Regions from separate parts of the Homo sapiens genome. Here regions 1, 2, 3, 4, 6 and 7 are each linked to region 5. Evidence: promoter capture Hi-C in 16 types of primary human blood cells and fetal thymus (Javierre and others, 2016). All regions are on one chromosome and are shown on one strand. The core of a region is centred on a gene start or on the middle of the fragment in contact, and the rest is flanking DNA. Distances in the headings are between cores, read along the strand shown.

Region 1 (2,700 bases), core at 64-2,563, 270 kb after region 5:
AACAGCTCAATCTTAGCTCCCGCAGGCCCCAGCCGCCTTAGCAGTTCTGCGTGTGTGAACTTTATGGAAGCAGAAAGGGCTGGTGACACTTGGGTTCTTGGGGTTTGTCAGGGGAGGGCACCAAATTGGTCTTGAGGAAGCAGTTAGGTGAGCCCCAGTGACAGTCTTAAGCACAGTGATTGGCAGATAGCAAGTGAAGGAGGGGCAAGGCTGCCACCACTTCTGGCTTCTGGTGAAATTTTACTGGACTGATTCCTAGGAAACTGCTGTTTGTCTTTGAGACCTTTCCACATCAGATGGCCCATGAAGCGTTCCACAGGGACCTTTGGTACAATCCATCTGTCCTACGTGGGCCATCAGAATCCCCTTCTGCACATGGGCTGGAAGAGGAGAGAAGCCCTCCAGCCTGGGGATGGGAGACCTAGGGGTCTCAGGTTCCTGAGAGGTCGAAAGGATTAACATAGTCCAGCTCTGTCTGAGCCTCAGAAAACCTGCCCTCCCTGTTAGAGGCCATGGGAAGAGTGTTCTTTTTAAGCATGAAGAACTGACTGTGGGCCAGGTGTAGTGGCTCACGCCTGTAATCCCAACACTTTGGGAGGCCGAGGTGGGCAGATCAGCTGGGGCCAGGAGTTCTAGACCAGCCTAACATGGCAAAACCACATCTCTCCTAAAAATACAAAAATTAGCCGGGTGTGGTGGCGTGCACCTGTGATCCCAGCTATTTGGGAGGCTGAGGCACAAGAATCACTTGAACCCAGGGGGCAGAGGCTGCAGTGAGCCAAGAGCACACCACTACACTCCAGTCTGGGCAATAGAGCAAGACTGTCTCAAAAAAAAAAAAAAAAAAAAAAAAAAAAGACTGTCATTAGCCAAGCATGGTGGCGTGTACCTGTAGTCCCAGCTACTTGGAAGGCTGAGGTGGGAGGATTGCTTGAGCCCAGGAGGTCAAGGCTGCAGGGAGCCAAGGCGACAGAGCGATGTCTTGTCTCAAAAACAAACAACTAGCTGTGTTGACTAGAGGCAGCTGTGAAACTGTCCTAAAAGGCTGGACTTCGAGAAGTTTCTTCCACAGATTGACCAGGTACTGTAGGTTTCAGTCACAACTGGGGTCCTGACACTGGCAAAACCCCACCAGCTGCCCCACAAGTGGGGCCTGCCCTGAGGTCAGGGAGTTCTCTGCTGTACTGGTTCCTTTATGCACTAGGAAGGCAGACATGCCCTGAGGAGCCCTCAGAGTCCAACCCCAGCACCCCCACTAGGTCATTGCTGCCTTTAATCACATTCCAGATCCAGAGCCACACAGTGGCCCTGGCATTGGTCTCGGGTGTGTCCCATATCAGCAGCACATCTGCAGAGGGGCGTGAGTGCAGGCTCCCTGCTGAAAGCTCCCAGGGGTACCACGGAACAGCGGCTGTTGGTGGTGGACCCTGTGGAGGCTCCTGGCCTTCACTGTGTGTCCCTTGTCTTCCAGGTGAGACTGTGGAGATGAGAAGGTGGTGGACACTCGTGATGGAATGGAAATCGTCCTACCGTGCAGCCACACCCTGCCCTGCCCCGCCCCGCCCCGCCCGCGTGCCTGCCCATGCCAGCACTTCCTTAAGTTCTCACATCACACTCAAACCAGTGACACCACAGGAAAGAAAGACCCAAGACGTTGGAATGGCTGTTTCCATGGACACAATCTCCATAGTGACAATGTGGGGGGAGGGGGGAGGGGTGGGATGATGGGGAAAGGGTGGGGGGAATTAAAAGGGAGGGATAAATATATATATATAAATCTATTTTTAGTCTGGAAAGACTTTGTTTAAATGAAAGGTGCGCTATCCCTTTTGATTCTGTTTTAAAATTATCTCGTTAAAGATCTCCAAATTTGTTCCGATGACAAGTGAAATTTAAATGTGAGATTGAACTGAACAAACCCTCATCTCATGAAGGACGGGGTGTGTGTGTGGCGTTGATCTTTAGCCTGTCTCACACCAGTTCAGAAAACACTAGACCCAGGATTGAAAAAGCAAACCACAGCAGAACCATCCTTTTGTCATTAATTTGTCTCAAAGTGGGAAGGTTTTGGGGGAGGGGGAAATACAGGGATGGTCCATGTTTTCAAGAGTAGGGGAATGATGTTTAAACACAAAAATAAATTTTTTTTCATTTCCAGAAACACTATTTATTTATGGTTTTTTTTTTTTAATTTTTTCTTTTTGGGGGTGAAATTGGCAGATGCCTGAGGTCATAGCTGTGTCCTGGGTCACTGTGGCTGGTGAGGACCTCAAGGACCCCATCAAGTGTACACAGCAGCAGCAAAATCAAGGGATGACCCTCCTCTGGGGCCCCCTGTCCTCAGCACATTCCAGGCAGCTGTGCCCTGACCCACAGGGACCCGTGGGGATGGGAGGAGGTCCAGGCCTGTGTTGCCAGAGCTGGCAGTGTGAGCTGTAGGCAGGGACGGGGAGGGACTGTCGCTGTGATCAGAGTGGGTTAAGCTGACCAGGAACACCCATTTAACCCCTTTTTCTTTTTGCTTTCATTTTTATAAAGGAAAAGAGGACCTGTCAGATAGGCAGCCCCATGCTACGTGATTCTTTATGTTGTGTTGTTTTGTTTTGTAAATTGTATAATTTTTAAATATCTGAGTTTTAAAAAAAGAAAAAAGTACAAAAAAATCTTGTTATGGCCTTAAGAAGGGGTTAGTGCATCTTT
Region 2 (2,886 bases), core at 59-2,558, 370 kb after region 5:
CCCCTGCTGTGCCTGGTATGCTGGCAGTGGTGATGGTGACAACACAATGAGGCCAAGTAGCAATGCTCCCAGGTCCTGCAGCTTGTGCTCTGCCCAGCAGTGCCCCTGGCCCAGCACCTCAGCCTGCTCTTCTCTCTGGTGGCTCCACCCCAACCCCTACTTCTTTTCCTTTATTTCTCTCCCAACCTGGCTGCAAAGGAGGTTCATATTCCCCAGATGTGTCCACAAACCTGTCCAGGAGTTGTGTCTTAAAATTGATTTCCTGTCCCTCTTCCTAAGGACAGGGGTAACAGTCAAAGTGAAGGAATGATGGGTTCTTGCCTGTCTTGCTTTGGTCCGTATTTCCCAAGCCCTCCTCTTTTAGCCAAGGCTACAGGGCACTTGTCTTCCCTGGTGGCTCTCCCCTTTGGAGAGAGCTAGTGGCAGAGCAACCTAGCTAGGTCCTCCTTGGGCTTTGAATGCAGGAGCACCCAGTGCCCCAGGCCTTGCACTGTGCTGCCCAAGGAGTATTTTCTGGGTGGATCTCCCATACTCCTCAGGGTTCTGAGGTCCTTGTATTTAGGGTATGGTGTAAAAACTTACATATGCACATTTTGTTACATCATTTAAGATGATTGAAGCTTTACTGGTTAAGTATAGGGTCACCAGAGAAAGTTCCTTTCCCCAGTTGATGTCTTGAGGCTGTTGAGAAACTTAGGACAGAAGCCTACCTCATCCCAGGCCTGCCCCTCCGTGCATAGCTCTGCCTTTGGGTCTTGTTCATAGTGCTGTTCAGGCAAAATGGAATAGTCTCAGGTGGGAACACCTTCTCTTGCTAGCTCCAGGAAGGCTTTGTGGGAAATGAGTTGAGACCATGGACTTGGGAGTTGGGGGCCAGAGTTGAGCCTGGACTTGACCAATTAATTCCCTTACCTTTCAGCCCAAGATAGCTACATGTCTTTACTTGCTGTATAAGTTTTCCTTTTGTCCTGGGGGTGCCTGATTGATCCTATCTCTTCACCCTTCATTCTTTCAACAAACATGCCATCTATCTCCCAGGACATTTATTCCCTTCTATTCAAGGCCAGTTAGGAATGCAATTATTTTTTTTTTTCAGTTAAATACAGACTTGTTTGGACGCAAGGTACCCTTTCTCTTTTTAAAAACTTTTTATCATGAAAACTTTCAAATACAAAAATAAAATGGTAGAGTGAACCTCCATGTACCCAGCATCCAGCTCCAGTAACCATCAACGTGTACCATTATTTCATCTCTCTTCCTGCACATGCTCTTCTGATGTGTGAGCTAGAGTATCTGAAAGGAAATTTCAGAAAACCCTAAAAACCACTATGTCTCTAACAGATAAGGGCTTTAAAAATACATATATGAGCCGGGCGCGGTGACTCATGCCTGTAATCCCAGCACTTTGGGAGGCTGAGGTAGGCGGATCACAAGGTCAGGAGATTGAGACCATCCTGGCTAACACGGTGAAACCCCATCTCTATTAAAAATACAAAAAATTAGCCGGGCATGGTGGTGGGCGCCTGTAGTCCCAGCCACTCGGGAGGCTGAGGCAGGAGAACAGCGTGATCCTGGGAGGCGGAGGTTGCAGTGAGCCGAGATGGCACCACCATACTCCAGCCTGGGTGACAGAGCCAGACTCCATCTCAAAAAAAAAAAAAAAAAAAAAAAAAAAAAAAAATATATATATATATATATATATATATATATATACATACACACACACATATATGTGTATATATATATATATATATATGACCTTAATACAATTTTCCTATCTAAAAAAACATAATTTTAAAATAATCTAATAACCAATCTATGTTCAGTTTTTGCCAGTTGTCTCAAAAATCTCTATAGTTTGTCTAAATCAAGATCCAGTAAAATAGTCCAGTACGAACTACTGAAAGTTTGCTCCCTTCATAAAAGCATTGAAAAACCTGCCACATACTATCAAAATCAACTTTCACAGAACTCTGGAAATTAGCCAAAAGCTTGCGGCAACCCAGAAAACTTCAACTGAAAAAAAAAAAAGTTGAATTCTAGTAGAAACAGCAAGCTATGTGGTATTTTACCTTATTACCAGATTTTAAATCAGCTATTTTAAACATGTTCAAAGAGCCAAAGGAAGCCGGGTCTAAAGAAATAAAGGAAAGAATAAGAATGATGCCCAAACAGAATAACAAAGAAGAGATAAAACTGTAGTGGGGAAGAAAGCACAAATTCTGAAGTTGGAAAGTACAATAGTTGAAATGAGAATTCACTGAAGAGGTTTAATAATAGTAGATTTGACAGAAAAAGAATCAGCAAACTTGAAGACAGATCTGTTGAAATTAACCTCTCTGAGAAAAAGAAAGAAACAAGAATGAAGAACAATGAGCAAAACTTCTAAAACCTTTGGGATACCACCAAATGTACCCATATACACATAAAAAAAGAGAAAGGGGCAGAATATTGGAAGAAAGAATGGTTGAAAATGTCTCACATTTGATGGAAAATATTAATCTACCTATCCAAGAAGCTCAGTGAACTCCAAGTAGGTTAAACTCAAAGAGCTCCATACCTAGACATATCATAATCAAACCCTCAAAAGACAGAATTTTGAAAGAGGCAAGATAAAAGCAACTCATCACACAAGGGAGTCTCAATAAGATTTACAACTGACTTCTCATCAGAAACCATGGAAACAAGAAGGCAATGGGTACATTTAAAAATAACTAAGTATAATTGGATTGTTTGTCACAAAGGATAAATGCTTGAGGCACTAGATACCCCATTTTCCATGATGTGATTATTACAGGAATGCAATGCCTGTATCAAAACATCTCATGTACTCCATAAATATATACACCTACTATGCAGCCACAAAAATTAAAAATGAAAAAAAAG
Region 3 (2,700 bases), core at 112-2,611, 440 kb after region 5:
GACTGGGATTTACACAAGCAGCACAGGTGAGCCCACTGGGGAGTGCTCAGACCCCTGCATGTTATATTCCTGATTGGAAGGAAGAAAGGTGAGGCTCCCCCTACTCCGAGACTGTTTGCCCTCTTTCAAGGTCGACTTAAGTCTTGCCTTCTCCAGGAAACCATCCAGGACCTCTTCATTTTCTATTTGATTATAAGTTTTGTTTGTTTGTTGTTTGTTTGTTTGTTTGAGACCGAGTCTTGCTCTGTTGCCCAGGCTGGAGTACCGTGGTGCGATCTTGGCTCACTACAACCTCCACCTCCCGGGTTCCAGTGATTCTCCTGCCTCAGCCTCCCTAGTAGCTGGGCTTACAGGCATATGCCACCACGCCCAGCTAATTTTTGTATTTTTAGTAGAAATGGGGTTTCACCATGTTGGCCAGGCTGGTCTCGAACTCCTGACCTTAGGTGATCCACCCGCCTTGGCCTCCCAAAGTGCTGGGATTACAGGCGTGAGCCACCGCCCCCAGCCAATTGTAAGTTTCTTTTTTTTTTTTTTTTTTTTTTTGAGATAGAGTGTCACTTTGTCGCCCAGGCTGGAGTACAGTAGCACGATCTCAGCTCACTGCAAGCGCCGCCTCTCGGGTTCATGCCATTCTCCTGCCTCAGCCTCCTGAGTAGCTGGGACTACAGGCACCCGCCACCACACCCGGCTAATTTTTTTGTATTTTTAGTAGAGACGGGGTTTCACCGTGTTAGCCAGGATGGTCTTGATCTCCTGACTTCGTGATTCACCCGCCTCTGCCTCCCAAAGTGCTGGGATTACAGGCATGAGCCACCACGCCCAACTGGATTGTAAATTTCTTAAAGGCAGCAATTGTCTTTTCATTTCTCTCAAATCGCCCCTCCCCAACCCTGTACATCCAGCACAGGGCTGAGCTTATAGAACATGCCAGTGAGGGCTGGGCACGGTGGCTCACGCCTGTAATCCCAGCACTTTGGGAGGCCGAGGCGGGCAGATCACGAGGTCAGGAGATCAAGACTAGCCGAGACCATCCTGGCTAACACAGTGAAACCCCATCTCTACTAAAAAGAGAAAAACAAAATTAGCCAGGCGTGGTGGTGGGTGCCTGTAGTCCTAGCTACTCAGGAGGCTGAGGCAGGAGAATGGCGTGAACCCGTAAGGCGGAGCTTGCAGTGAGCCGAGATCACGCCACTGCACTCCAGCCTGGGCGACAGAGAGAGACTCCAAAAAAAAAACAAAGAGAAGATGCCAGTGAGGACTAGTGGCCAGTTGACTCACTAATTAGTCTAGCCCTTCAATTAGGCTAACGTTGGAGGAGTGATTTCTTATGTACACAGTGATACATGTATTCAGTGGTCTTCACAGGTAGGTTTGGAGGGTGGGAAGAAGGCAGCCCAGAGCTGTGCCATCTTTTCTTCATCATAGTCCCCAGATACCACCAACCTCAGCCTCTTGAATGGTTAAGAAGGGGGCTGGGGTGGAGAATTGGGGGAGGGTTGAGGGTGGGGGTGAAGGCAGAATGATGAGGGCTAGGAGATGGCCTGAACCCAGCGGAGAGAAAGGAGGGGATGGGAACAGGAAAAGAAGACAGGGGGCCTTCTCACCCTTTGCTTGAATTCAGACTTCTCCTCCAGGGTCATGGTGTCAGCCTTAGCAATGACAGGGATGATGTTCACAACCTTGCTGAGGTGTTTCATGAACTCAAGATCCAGAGGTCGCAAGCTGGGGCACAGAAAAGGCAGAATCATCAGAGCCACCTTGCCCTCCCCAACTCAGCCACCACCACCACTCCAGGACACCCACAGGAGAAGAGGACTGGGCTGGGCATCTGGCTGAGGCCAAGAGGCTGCTACCTCTCGTCTCCGACACAGCCCCACTGCCTTGCCGTCTGTAGAGCAGCCTCAACACCTGCCTTTTTCTTTTTCAGTCCCCTTGCAGATTCTGCCTCTCTTTAAGCCCCCCTCAAACCACCACTTCAGGACATCTTTTCTGACTCAGGGATTTCTTTCTCCTGGGAGCATCTGTGGACTACTGTCTCTACTCATATGTCCTTGTGCGTGTGTGTCTTTTTTCCTTTTTTGTCTGTCTCAAAAACAAAAAACAAACAACAACAACCAAAAAAAAACAACACTGTGTGTGTCTTTTTTTTTTTTTTTTTTTTTGAGACAGGGTCTCACTTTGTCACCCAGGCTGGAGTGCAGTGATATGGTCATTGGCTCACTGCAGCCTTGACCTCCAGGGCTCAAGCAATCCTCCCACCTCAGCCTCCAGAGGAGCTGGGACCACAGTTGCGCACTACCATGTCTGGCTAATTTTTAAATTTTGTGTAGAGACAATGTCTTGCCATGTTGCCCACGCTGGTCTTGAACTCCTGGACTCAAGCAATCTTCCTGCCTCGGCTTCCCAAAGTGCTGGGATTATAGGCGAGAGCCACCGTGCCTAGTGTGTACATCTTGTTCTGCCTATCAGACTACTTCTTGACAGGTCTCCTCCTAGCCCCCAGAGTTAGTCCTGCAGGGCCAAACTGGAGGCCTTGCCCTTCCCACAATCTGACAGTCTATGCCCCCATCCTACCTCAGGCTCTGAGACCCCAACTTGGCTCTATTTTGCAATCTCAGGGACTCACTAAGTCAGTCTGTCTGATGGTTCATTCTGACCAGGGGGTCGAAGCCTAGGGAGGGATAAAACCAGCCTTCT
Region 4 (2,700 bases), core at 152-2,651, 420 kb after region 5:
ATATGTGAGAATTGATCAAATAATCTTCAACAAAGGTACTAAGATGACTCAGTGAGGAAAAGACAATCTATTTAACAAATGATGTCCTTTTAGAAAACTGGATATCCACATGCAAAAGAATGAAGTCATACCTTTATCTTACATAGTATGCAAAAATTAACTCAAAATGGATTAAAGACTTAAACATAAGACCCAAAACTATAAAACTCCTAGAAAAAAACATACTGAAAATCTTCGTGACATTGGACTTGTCAATGACTTCTTGGATAAAAAAACAAAAGCACCGGCAACAAAAGAACAAATAAATAAATTGGACTATATCAAACTTAAAAATTGTGTATCAAAGGACACAATCACCAGAATGAAACAGCAACCTATGGAATGGGAGAAAATATTTCAAATTGTATTTATGATAAGGGCTTAATATCTAGAGTATGTAAAGAGCTCCCTGTAATCCCAGCACAAGGCCAAGGTGGGTGGATCAACTGAGGTCAGTAGTTCAAGACCAGCCAGCCCAACATGGTGAAACCCTGTCTCTACTAAAAATACAAAAAAATTGGCCAGGCCCAGTGGCTCACGCCTGTAATCCCAGCACTTTGGGAGGCTGAGGCGGGTGGATCACAAGATCAGGAGATCGAGACCATCCTGGCTAACACGGTGAAACCCCGTCTCTACTAAAAAATAGAAAAAATTAGCCGGGCGTGGTGGTGGACACCTGTAGTCCCAGCTACTCAGGAGGCTGAGGCAGGAGAATGGTGTGAACCTGGGAGGCGGAGCTTGCAGTCAGCCAAGATCGTGCCACTGCACTCCAGCCTGGGCAACAGAGCGAGACTCCATCTTAGAAAAAAAATAATAAAAAAAATTAGCCAGGTGTGGTGGTGGGCACCTGTAATCCCAGCTACTCAGGAGGCTGAGGCAGGAGAATCACTTGAACCTGGGAGGCAGAGGTTGCAGTGAGCTGAGATCGCACCATTGCACTCCAGCCTGGGCAACAAGAGCAATAATACACAAATGGCCAATGAGCATATAAAAAGATTGTCATTACTAATCATCAGAGAAATACAAATCAAAACCACAATGAGACATCACTTTATACCCATTAGGATGGTTAATATTTAAAAAACCAACAGGTCCAGGCATGGTGGCTCATGCCTGTAATCCCAGCACTTTGGGAGGCCAAGGTGAGTGGATCACTTGATGCTAAGAGTTTGAGACCAGCCTGGCCAACACAGCGAAACCCCGTCTCTACTAAAAATACAAAAAACTGGGTGTAGTGGCATATGCTTGTAATCCTGGCTACTCAGGAGGCTGAGGGCATGTGAATCACTTGAACCCCGGAAGCTAAGGCTGCAATGAGCCAAGATCCTGCTGCTACACTACAGCCTGAGTGACAGAGTGAGACTCTGTCAAAAAAAGGGAAGGGAGGGGAGGAGAGGGGGAGGGGGAGGGAGAGGGAAGGGAGGGAGAAAGGAAAGGAAAGGAAAGGAAAGGAAAGGAAAGGAAAGGAAAGGAAAGCAAAGGAAAGGAAAGGAAAGGAAAGGAAAGGAAGAGGAGAAGAGAAGAGAAGAAAAACAAGTGTTGGTGAGGATGTGGAGAAACCGGAACTCTTGTGCACTGTTGCTAGAAATGTAAAATGAGTAGCTGCTATGGAAAACAGTCCGGAGGCTCCTCAAAAAAAATTAAAAATAGAACTACCGTACAAGCTAGCAATCCTGCTTCTGGGTATACATCCAAAAGAATTGCCAGCAGTGTCTCAAATAGATATTTGAATACTTATGTTGATAGCAGCACTATTCACAATAACCAGGAGGTGGAAGCAACCTAAATGTCCATCAGTGCATGAATGGATAAACAAAATGTGGCACATACATACAATGGAATATTTTTCAACCTTAAAAGAAGGAAATCCTGTCACATGCTGTAACATGGACGAACCTTGAGGATGTTACGCTAAGTTAAATAAACCAGCCACAAAAAGACAAATATTGTCATTACACTTACATGAGGTATCTGAAGTAGTCAAATTCATAGAAACAGAAAGTAGAATGGTTGTTACTAGGTGTCATGGGGAGAGGGATAGAGGGAATTGTTTAATGGGAACAGAATTGTTGGGAAAAGTATGGTGAAGTGGGCACTCAGAGTACTGAGAGGAATGTAAATTGATATAATTCTGTAGGGCAATTCTGCAATAAGTGTATTTTAATGTAAAGTCATGTATACTTTAATATTTTGAACAATGATTTTTATATTTTCAATAAATATTTTTAATCTCTTTTTAAAAGTCTAATCCTCTGACCTCACAATTCCCCTATCCCAAAGAAACATTTTGACAGGTAGGCAAAATTATGTTTTCAAAAATGTTCATTGCAGGAATGTTTATAGTAATGACCAAAAAAACCACAAACAAACAAAAAACAAAACAAAAACCCAGACTATTCCAGATTAGGGGTTGAGTAAAGATTTATGCACACTGGAATACCAGCCATTGAAAATAATGATGTAGATACACTAGAAAACATTCCCAATATACTGGCAAATGAGGAAAATAAGTTATAAAGCAGTTGGAGAAAAAAACTGTTTATTTCCATGTGGAAAAGTACAGAAGGACATATACCAAAATGCAAACATTACTGGTAAAAATTTGGGATAACAGATTTTTTCTTCTGATTTTTCTATAATGACAGGTTTCCAGCACACGTT
Region 5 (2,923 bases), core at 240-2,739:
AGGTCTATCACCATGGCATCAAGGTGCTTAGACAACCTGCTACTCCCAGGAGCCAGGAATAGCGTGAAGCAGCGGGTCTGCATCTCACTGTGACATATGTGAGCATGTATCACTGTGATGGATCAACAGTCAATAACACTGGGGTCCCCGCCTGCCCCCTGCGCGGTAGGAAACTTCTCCTGTTCATATGTCTTCCTCCCCTGGTGGGCGGCCCCTGCTCTTGCCAGCCTCCCAGTGCTCGTGGCATTGGTGGAAACGTCTTTAGGCTTTCACTGTTCATGTTTGGAGCAGCCCAGGGAAAAGCATGTGTGCAAAGAACTGAAATGGATCTCATGATGCCGTCACCGGGGGCTGCAGCTGGACACACCTGAGCAGGCAGTAGCAGGGTGGGAGAAGGCTCGGACATCATACCACTGGCAGTTCAAATGCCCGCCCCACAGACCTGCCCTGATCCTAGGCATGTTGTTTTGCCTCCTGGGGCCGAGGTCTTCTCTTTTGTACAACTGGGATCATCACATTTATCTGGTGAGTGAAGGGACACCTGCAGAGAAGGGAGGTAAGCGCTCAGCATGCGCTGAAACTCAGCCACCTTCCCGCCTGCGTCTTCCATGTACCAGGTGCCTCCAGCTCCACCAGCCATCACCACACCCCAGCCCCTTTCCTCTGCCACTCCAGACACGCAGGCAGATGTGTGGGTGCCAAGGGTGAGGGGCTCCCAGTCTGCTGGGGAAGGGGGTCCCGGCAGCAAACAATTCCTGTCCCCGGCTGATGCTGCTAGAAGTGAGAGCAGGGGCTGTGACCTGCAGCCAATGGGGAAGCAGTTCGAGGGTCTCACAGTTGGGAGGCCGAGTGAGCTAAGCTTTAGGGCAGCCACAGGGAGGAGCTGACGTTAGAGATGGACCAGAGAGGAGGCGTCTCCTGGGCCTCTGCAGGGGACCCACAGAGGTTCTCGCTGGGTGAATGATGGGCAGCCTGCCTTTCACCTGCCCTGGGTGTTTGGCCCTCTCTAGGGCTGGGAACATGAGGCTCCTGCCCTTCACCCCAGCCTCCCTACCACCCCTCACCAAAAAACCTACCTTTGGTAAACACATTATTAAGGGATTCTCAGAATATTTTAGAGAAGTTTGTGTGAACATGCTTGTGGTCGTTTTAAAAGTGTTTCAGAAGTGAGAGGCTAAACCAAGGCCCGAAGTCACTCATGGAAATCCCATGATCCCTCTGCACAGTTACCAGTGTCTCCTGGACGGGGCCCCTGCTGGAAAGGGGCCGAGACAGGGTGAAGCCCACCAGGGGTTGGAGTGGGGAGGCTTGGGTCCCGTCTCCAGCTCTTCTTCTGGTTGTGTGGCCTGGACCAGTCTCAGTGCCAGGTTCCTCATCTGGCGGCCACCCTGCTGGGCTGTTCCAGCTTTGCTTCTGAGCGGAAGGTCAGGGGCTGCCAGGGAGGAGCTTCGTGGGGAAAGCAAAGGGGAAGCTGTCAGCGCCGGCCGTCCCCTCCTGTGAACTAAAGAGTCGCCGCAGACAAGCAGGCCCCCAGATGGAGAACCAGCCTGTGAGGTGGCGGGCCCTGCCAGGCCTCCCACGCCCTCCTGGGCTCCCCGCAGCCCCCTGGCTCCTCCTTGGCGTGCTGCTGCTGCCCGGGACCCTGCGACTGGCAGGTAGTGTCTGTCTTCCTCCTTCTCTCTACTCTCTCGCTCCAGAACATCAGAGCGGCTTTCATCCCGCCCGGCGCAGCTAATTCCCAGGGACCTGTCTCTGGGGATTTGCTGGTTGTCGTTTGAACGCTGCAGACTTCACAGGGGAAGCCTTCTGGGACCGAGAAGATGTTTAGCTAATGCCTTGCCAAGGTGGCTTTTGAAGGGGAGGGGGACAGCGCTCTCTCCCTCGCTGCTGTGACAGCTTTGCCCCAGCAGTCTGGCCTCCTGGCCCTTAAACAAGGAGGGTGGGCGCTGTGTGGCTGGGGCCAGGGGCGGGGCAGGGGGGAGGGACAGCTCCCCATCCGAGGAACCTCACGTGGCTGCTGCGGGGGACACTGCGTTGAACCTGGCAAGTGGTGGGGCTACCCTCTGGGTTGTTGCTGGCATTGGCCAGGGAGAGCGGGGAGAGGGGGGAGGGGGGGATACCAGGGCCAGCCACAGGGCTCTGCGCCCAGAGGCACAAAACTGTCAGTCACCAGAAAGGGTCTCACCTCCCAGTTCCTGAAACACAACCAGAGGCCAAGTGTTTTAGGATGCAAGTGTGTCTTTCCACGCCAGCGGCGCTCCTTTCCTGGTTCCAGGCTTTCTTGGAAGCTGGGTGGCCGGGATCCGAGCCAAGCTGTGGGGTAGGTAGCCTCAGGGCCAGTTCATCAGGCCAGGGACGGCCCAGGAGGGTCCCATTCCAGGGCTGCCAGCACGAGGGCTCAGTGAATTCTGCCAGATTCTCTCTGCCCCTCCTTGGCCGGGCAGCAGCCAACCCTCCCTCTGGCCAAAGGGGTGGCCTCCACTGTGGAGACAGGGTGCCTTCCTTTCTATTCTCTTAGTTTATGGGGCTTTCAAGAGCTGCCCCCACCCTGTCCTGCTGCACCCCCTCTCATGACCACAAATTAGGCTTTATGGAGCCCTTAGCAGGGCACGTACTGGCCACCCTCACAGCACCCCTTGGGGCTCCTATTGTCCTCACCTGCACCATTTTAAGGACAGGGAAAAGGAGGCCCAGGGAAGCCAGTTCGTTTGCTCAAGACCTAGCCGGTAAGTAGAGGCCAGCCTCAGCCCCAGGCCAGCCTCAGCCCCAAGCTGGGCCCCTCGGCCAGTAGGCTCAGAGGATCCTCTTACTTGTAAAGAATGTTCTTCACCGGAAACTTACCCTGGGGAGGCAAAGGCTGACCTGTGTGTACCTCCCCAGGCTGCAGCCCAGAGCCCTAGGACACCATCTCCTTTAATCCTGT
Region 6 (2,747 bases), core at 35-2,534, 390 kb after region 5:
TTTAAAGACAGAACCTCGCCCTGTTGCCAGGCTAGAGTGCAGTGGCATGATCTCGGCTCACTGTAACCTCCGCCTCCTGGGTTCAAGTGATTCTCCTGCCTCAGCCCCCCGAGTAGCTGGGACTACAGGTGTGTGCCACCACGCCCAGCTAATTTATATATTTTTAGTAGAGATGGGGTTTCACCATGTTGGCCAGGATGGTCTCGCTCTCTTGACCTCGTGATCTGCCTGTCTCAGCCTCCCCTCCCAAAGTGCTGGGATTACAGGCGTGTGCCACTGTGCCCAGCCAAAACAGACTTTTAAGTCCAAAACTGTTACTAGGGACAAAGAAAGTCATATAATGATAAAAGTTTCAATTCAACAGGAAGCTATAACAATTATAAACATGTATGTACTGAACATCAGAGCACTTAAATATATAAATCAAATATGGACAGATATGAAGAAAGAGGTTAAAAACAATTTAATAGTAGGAGAATTCAATATTCCACTTTTAATAATGGATAGCACATTCAGGCAGACAACCAATAAAAAAACAACTGATTTGAATAACACTATACACCAAATGGACCTAACATACAGAACGTTTTAGCCAACAGCAGCAGAATACAATTTCATCTCAAGTATACATGGAACATATTCCAGGATAGGTCACATCTTAAGTCACAAAACAAGTTTTAACAAATTTAAGAAGATTGAAATAATACCTGGTATCTTCTTAGGCCACAGTGGAAAGAACTAGAAATCGGTAACATAAAGAAAATAGAAAAATTCACAAATTCATAAAAACAATACACTCTTGAACAACTGGATAAAAGAGGAAATCCAGAGAGAATTTTAAAATATCTTGAGACAAAAATAAAATTCTAACTTTCTAAAATTTACAGGAATCAGCAAAAGCAGTTCCATAAGGGAAATGTATAGCATTAAACACCTATGTTTAAAAAGAAGAAAGATCTCGGTCAGGCGAGGTGGCTCACACACCTGTTATCCCAGCACTTTGGGAGGCCGAGGCAGGCAGATCACTTGAGGTCAGGAGTTCAAGACTAGCCTGGCGAACATGGTGAAACCTCGTCTCTACTAAAATACAAAAAATTAGCCAGGCGTGGTGGCAGGCAACTATAATCCCAGCTACTCAGGAGGCTGAGGCAGGAGAATTACTTGAACCCAGGAGGCGGAGGTTGCAGTGAGCTGAGATCGCACCATTGCACTCCAGCCTAGGCAACAGAGCAAGACTCTGTCTAAAAAAAAAAAAAGAGAGAGAGAGAAGATAGATCTCAATTAAAGAACCTAACATTGGCCAAGGCATGGTGGGAGGCCAAGGCGGGTGGATCACTTGAAGTCAAGAGTTCGAAACCAGCCTGTCCAACATAGTGAAACCCCATGTCTACTAAAAATACAAAAAATTAGCCGGGTATGGTGGTGCCTGCCTGTAGTCCCAGCTACTCTGGAGGCTGAGGCAGGAGAATCGCTTGAACCCAGGAGGCGGAGGTTGCAGTGAGCTGAGGTTGAGCCACTGCACTCCAGCTCTGGGTAACAAAACAAGACTTCATCTCGAGGAAAAAAAAAAAAAAAACCTAACTGTACAAATCAAGAAACTAGAAAAAGAGGAACAAACTCGACCCAAAGTTAGCAGAAGGACAGAAATAAGAAAAATTAGAGCAGAAATAAACAAAATAGAGAATAGAAAAAACTAAGTTGGCTTTTTAAAAAGATCAACAAAATCATCAAGCCTTTAGCTAGATTAAAAAAGAAGATTCAAATAAATAAAATCATAAATAAGAGAGGAGACATTACAATGGATGACACAGAAATAAAAAGGATCATAAGGGACTATTATGACAACCTATATGCCAATAAATGGAATAACCTAGAAGAAATGGATAAATCCTTAGTAACACACACACTACCAAGACCGAATCAAGAAGAAACAGAAAGTCTGAGCAGACCAATAACAAACAAGGAGTTGAATCAGTAATCAAAAACATTCCAGGCTGAGCGTAGTGGCTCACACCTATGATCACAGTACTTTGGAACGCTGAGCCAGGAGGATTGCTTGGGCTCTAGAGTTTGAGACCAGCCTAGGCAACACAGGAAGACCTCACTGATACTGGAAAAAAAAAAAAAAAGCCTGTAATCCCAGCACTTTGGGAGGCCAAGGCGAGTGGATCACCTGAGGTCAGGAGTTCGACACCAGCCTGTCCAACATGGTGAAACCCTGTCTCTACTAAAAAAAAATACAAGAATTAGCCAGGCATGGTGGTGGGCGCCTGTAATCCCAGCTACTTGGGAGATGGAGGCAAGAGAATTGCTTGAACCCAGGAGACGGAAATTGCAGTGAGCCGACACAGTGCCACTGCACTCCACCCTGGGCAACGGGGTGAGACTCTGTCTCAAAAAAAAAAAAAAATTAGCCAGGAATGGTGGTGTGCACCTGTAGTCCCAGCTACGTAAGAGAGGCTGAGGCAGGAGGATCACCTGAGCCCAGGAGATTGAGGCTGCAGTGAGCAATGATCATACCACTGCACTGCAGCCTAGGCAACAGAGTAAGACCCTATCTCGAAAAAGAAAAAAAAAATCCAGCTGGACGCAGTGGCTCACGCCTGTAATCCCAGCACTTTGGGAGGCCGAGGTGGGTGTATCACCTGAGGTCAGGAGATCGAGACCATCCTGGCTAACACGGTGAAACCCCGTCTCTACTAAAAGTACAAAAAATTAGCTGGGCGTGATGGCAGGTGCCTGTAGTC
Region 7 (2,963 bases), core at 310-2,809, 460 kb after region 5:
ATAGGAGCTCAGGTGTCCAGGTGGCAGGATGAGAGAGGACCAATTTGGCTTAGAGCCCCAGAACCAAGAAAGAGCCCTGAGCTGGCCTAGTGCTGGAGTCAGAAACAGAGCCAGCCCTGGAGAAGGTGAGGATGGGAAATGGAGAGGCAGTGAGTGTTCACAGAAGGAGCTTATCTGGTGAACAAGCCATGGTCCCCGCCCTTGAAGAGGCTGCCATGCCCAGGGATGCCAGGCAAGGAAGTAGGCAGGGCTCCACCAAGCTAAGCATTAGGGGTAGAAAGGCGGGAGGCTAGACCTGAGCTGGGGCTGTTCCTACAGAAGGCCCAAAGGTGAGAAAGTGTGGCATCTTTCTGAAAATCCAACATGGGGCTCCTAGGCTGTATGTAGCAGGGAGGGGAGAGCCAAGGCTGCAGGTGAGCTGGGGTCCAGGCCAGGCTACAGCAAAGTTTAGGCCAGGGAATGTGACCCATTCCGATCTGTAGGTGGGAACGGCCACTCGGGCAGTGTGACAGAGGGATCAGATGGGAACAGAATTGAAGCCAGGATCCCATGAGGACATAGTTGAAACTCTCTGCTCCGTGGGCTGTGCAAGGGGCAGAGCTAGGGCTGGGGCTGGAGGAGGCTGCATTGCACAGGGGTAGAAGTGGCGGGACTGCCCAGGGTAGGGAGTGGGCACAAAGAGGTGTCGAGGATGAAGCTCAGGACTCTGGCTGTGGTCTTAGTAGATGGGCCACTCCCTGCTACTCTGGACTCCAAGTAACTCACCCTCTAGAAAAAAGTTGGTTTGGTTGCTTTTAACACAGCAGGCTGGGACCTGCAGCTGGGGGACAAGGCCAGGGCTGGTGGGAGGAGTCAGTTCCAGAGGGCTCATGGGGAGGGGAGTGATCATGTAGCCAGGTCCTTGAGGTCTGCAGCAGGGACGGGGAAGGCAGGGCACCGGACAGGGAAGGCATCACCCCTCACAATGGTGCCCCCAGCCCCTCATCCCTCTCCAGCCATATATTTGTATCCAAGACTGTCCTGGCCTCCAACCCTTTCCCACCTGGCCTATCACTGCAGCCCTGAACTTCTGCCCCCTCCTGCACAGCCACATCCACTTGGGCACACACGTTTACCCTGCACTTAGCCACAAACAGCTCCCCTCAGTGTGCACACCCACACACAGAGCAGGCCAGAGGACAGGGTGTCCGAGGGCATCACCCGACTCCCCATCCCCTCACTGCACTCCCATCTTCCATGGATTGCTTGGTCCTTCCCCACCCCACCCCCACCACCCTCCCACCCCCACAAACCCCCACACCCTTCCACCCCCCTACACACCTACCTTGATCAGAGGACAAGAAGGATCCAGTGTGTCTGGGAAGATAAGGCACACGCAGGCCCCTCACCTCCCCTGCACTCAGAGTCTGGCCATGGTGGCCAGCTTAGGGGCCTTGTCCCTCTGGTCCCCTCCTCAGCTCCTGCTCAGCCTCCAGGCCACAGTCCCCAGGCACAGGGCCCAGCCCTCTGCTCACTGTCCCACCAGCTACATCCCCGGAGACCGTGCTGGGCTGGGCTCTGGTGCAGGGAGGGGCTGGCTTCCTAGGAGTGGGCGGCTGTGAATGGCTGCTCTGAGCCTCTGGAATCCTGAAGAGCCATGGGAGGCTGGTAACGGCCAGGCTGGCACTCACGGCCACCTGCAGGGAGGTTCCCTGCAGCCTGCCCTCCCCAAATCTGCTCTGTCTCCCACAGACTTTGATGCCTGGGGAGTCTGCAGTAAAAACAGGGGTACTCCAAATATGGCTGCACTCTGGTAGTCCCAGCGCGAGTCTCCCTCTGGCTCTGCCTCTGTGCCCTTCATGCCCTGTTCAGCTCTGCAACCCTCAGACCATCTTGCCCACTCACCTGGTCTTTCCTCAAGGGGGCTGGAGTTCCTGGAGGCTAGAGCTCCTTCCACAACTATTCCCTGAGCCCCAGCTTGCTCCAGCTGGACCCTGTACCCAGACCCTAAGGGTGTGAAGAGGACCCCGCCCTAGGCCTGCCCCTGAGGGGACCACAAAGCCACCCAGCCTGGCTCTGGCAATGCCGACTCTCAGCAGCCCCTGGCCCTGGGGCTGGGATGGGAGCCCTCTTCTGTGTTCCCACAGCCCTCGGCTGCCTCTGTCATAGCAGTGGTGATAATAACAATGGTGCTGATAACAGCTACTATTTCCTGAGCACTTGCTCTGTGCCCGGCACCATGCCAGGGCTGGGCGGAGCTCACAGTCTGCTAGGAAGATAGGTATGTAAACAGATCCTATAGTACTGTCCTGTACGGTGATGGCAGATGTCCTCCGAGCACTCACCCTGAGTCAGGAACTAGGCTAAGCATTCTCCTGGCATCTCCTTTAATCTCCGCCTCATCACCTGCTTTTTACCGAGGAGGACATTGCAGCCCACACAACACTGTGTTGTCTGGTCTGCTCTCCTGTGTGTCTCTCTCTTTAGCGAGTGAGCTTCTGGAGCTGCGCTGGGCAATACAACTTTCAGTGATAATGGAAATGTTCTATGTCTGTGCTGTCCAGTACAGTAGCCACTAGCCACAGATGGCTACCGATCACTTAAAATGTGTCTACAGTGACCAAGGAACTGGATTTTTTAGTTTATTTTAATCTGTGGCTACCATATTAGCTCAGCTCTGTTTCGTTTGTTGTTGCTGTTGTTGTTATTAGTTTTTTTGAACAGGGTTTCACTCTGTCGCCCAGGCTGGAAGACAGTGGCGCCATCATGGCTCACTGCAGCCTCTTGGGCACAAGTGATCCTCCCACTTCTGCCTCCAGAGTAGCTGGGACCACAGGCATGCACCACCACGCCCAGCTAAGTTTTTATTTTTTGTAGAGACGGGGGTCTCCCTATGTAGCTCAGGCTGGTCTCGAACTTCTGAGCTCAAGCAATACTCCTACCTCCACCTCCCAAAGTGCTGGGATTACGGTCGTGAGCCACCA

What was found. The method cuts DNA at HindIII sites, captures the fragments that hold promoters and counts their contacts. A CHiCAGO score of 5 or more calls a contact.
Region 1: a fragment that was not itself captured here is called in contact with the fragment with the promoter of NFAM1 in region 5 in 16 of 17 cell types (total CD8 T cells, endothelial precursors, naive CD8 T cells and 13 more); the score reaches 18.4 in total CD8 T cells.
Region 2: a fragment that was not itself captured here is called in contact with the fragment with the promoter of NFAM1 in region 5 in 7 of 17 cell types (activated CD4 T cells, non-activated CD4 T cells, naive B cells and 4 more); the score reaches 7.9 in activated CD4 T cells.
Region 3: a contact is called between a fragment that was not itself captured here and the fragment with the promoter of NFAM1 in region 5, in 7 of 17 cell types (total CD4 T cells, naive CD4 T cells, activated CD4 T cells and 4 more). The highest score is 9.9, in total CD4 T cells.
Region 4: a fragment that was not itself captured here is called in contact with the fragment with the promoter of NFAM1 in region 5 in 5 of 17 cell types (non-activated CD4 T cells, activated CD4 T cells, total CD8 T cells and 2 more); the score reaches 5.8 in non-activated CD4 T cells.
Region 6: a fragment that was not itself captured here is called in contact with the fragment with the promoter of NFAM1 in region 5 in 3 of 17 cell types (naive CD8 T cells, total CD4 T cells and naive CD4 T cells); the score reaches 6.1 in naive CD8 T cells.
Region 7: the fragment with the promoter of SEPTIN3 here is called in contact with the fragment with the promoter of NFAM1 in region 5 in 11 of 17 cell types (naive CD8 T cells, activated CD4 T cells, naive CD4 T cells and 8 more); the score reaches 13.0 in naive CD8 T cells.

What each region holds. Positions count from the first base shown.
Region 1 is chr22:42,160,130-42,162,829 of GRCh38, reverse strand. It overlaps TCF20 (transcription factor 20), which reads left to right. Exons shown (of 6, transcript NM_001378418.1): 6 at 1,472-2,700. Among named protein-coding and RNA genes, the nearest start is that of CYP2D6, 31 kb to the right of the region's middle. The HindIII fragment of the contact is 4,008 bases long and covers 1-2,700 here.
Region 2 is chr22:42,056,697-42,059,582 of GRCh38, reverse strand. NAGA (alpha-N-acetylgalactosaminidase) reads left to right here. Exons shown (of 9, transcript NM_000262.3): 9 at 1-1,249. It also overlaps a transcript of WBP2NL not described here. Among named protein-coding and RNA genes, the nearest start is that of NAGA, 13 kb to the left of the region's middle. The HindIII fragment of the contact is 1,371 bases long and covers 623-1,993 here.
Region 3 is chr22:41,988,592-41,991,291 of GRCh38, reverse strand. It overlaps SEPTIN3 (septin 3), which reads right to left. Exons shown (of 12, transcript NM_001363845.2): 7 at 1,608-1,725. Among named protein-coding and RNA genes, the nearest start is that of WBP2NL, 8.8 kb to the left of the region's middle. The HindIII fragment of the contact is 8,041 bases long and covers 1-2,700 here.
Region 4 is chr22:42,006,937-42,009,636 of GRCh38, reverse strand. All of the region lies in intron 1 of WBP2NL (WBP2 N-terminal like), which reads right to left. Among named protein-coding and RNA genes, the nearest start is that of WBP2NL, 9.5 kb to the right of the region's middle. The HindIII fragment of the contact is 4,325 bases long and covers 1-2,700 here.
Region 5 is chr22:42,430,969-42,433,891 of GRCh38, reverse strand. NFAM1 (NFAT activating protein with ITAM motif 1) reads left to right here and starts at 1,489. Exons shown (of 6, transcript NM_145912.8): 1 at 1,489-1,655. The coding sequence starts at 1,535. The HindIII fragment of the contact is 8,354 bases long and covers 862-2,923 here.
Region 6 is chr22:42,038,738-42,041,484 of GRCh38, reverse strand. It overlaps a transcript of WBP2NL not described here. Among named protein-coding and RNA genes, the nearest start is that of NAGA, 31 kb to the left of the region's middle. The HindIII fragment of the contact is 4,262 bases long and covers 1-2,747 here.
Region 7 is chr22:41,968,039-41,971,001 of GRCh38, reverse strand. It overlaps SEPTIN3 (septin 3), which reads right to left and starts at 1,559. Exons shown (of 12, transcript NM_001363845.2): 1 at 1,325-1,559. The HindIII fragment of the contact is 14,934 bases long and covers 1-2,963 here.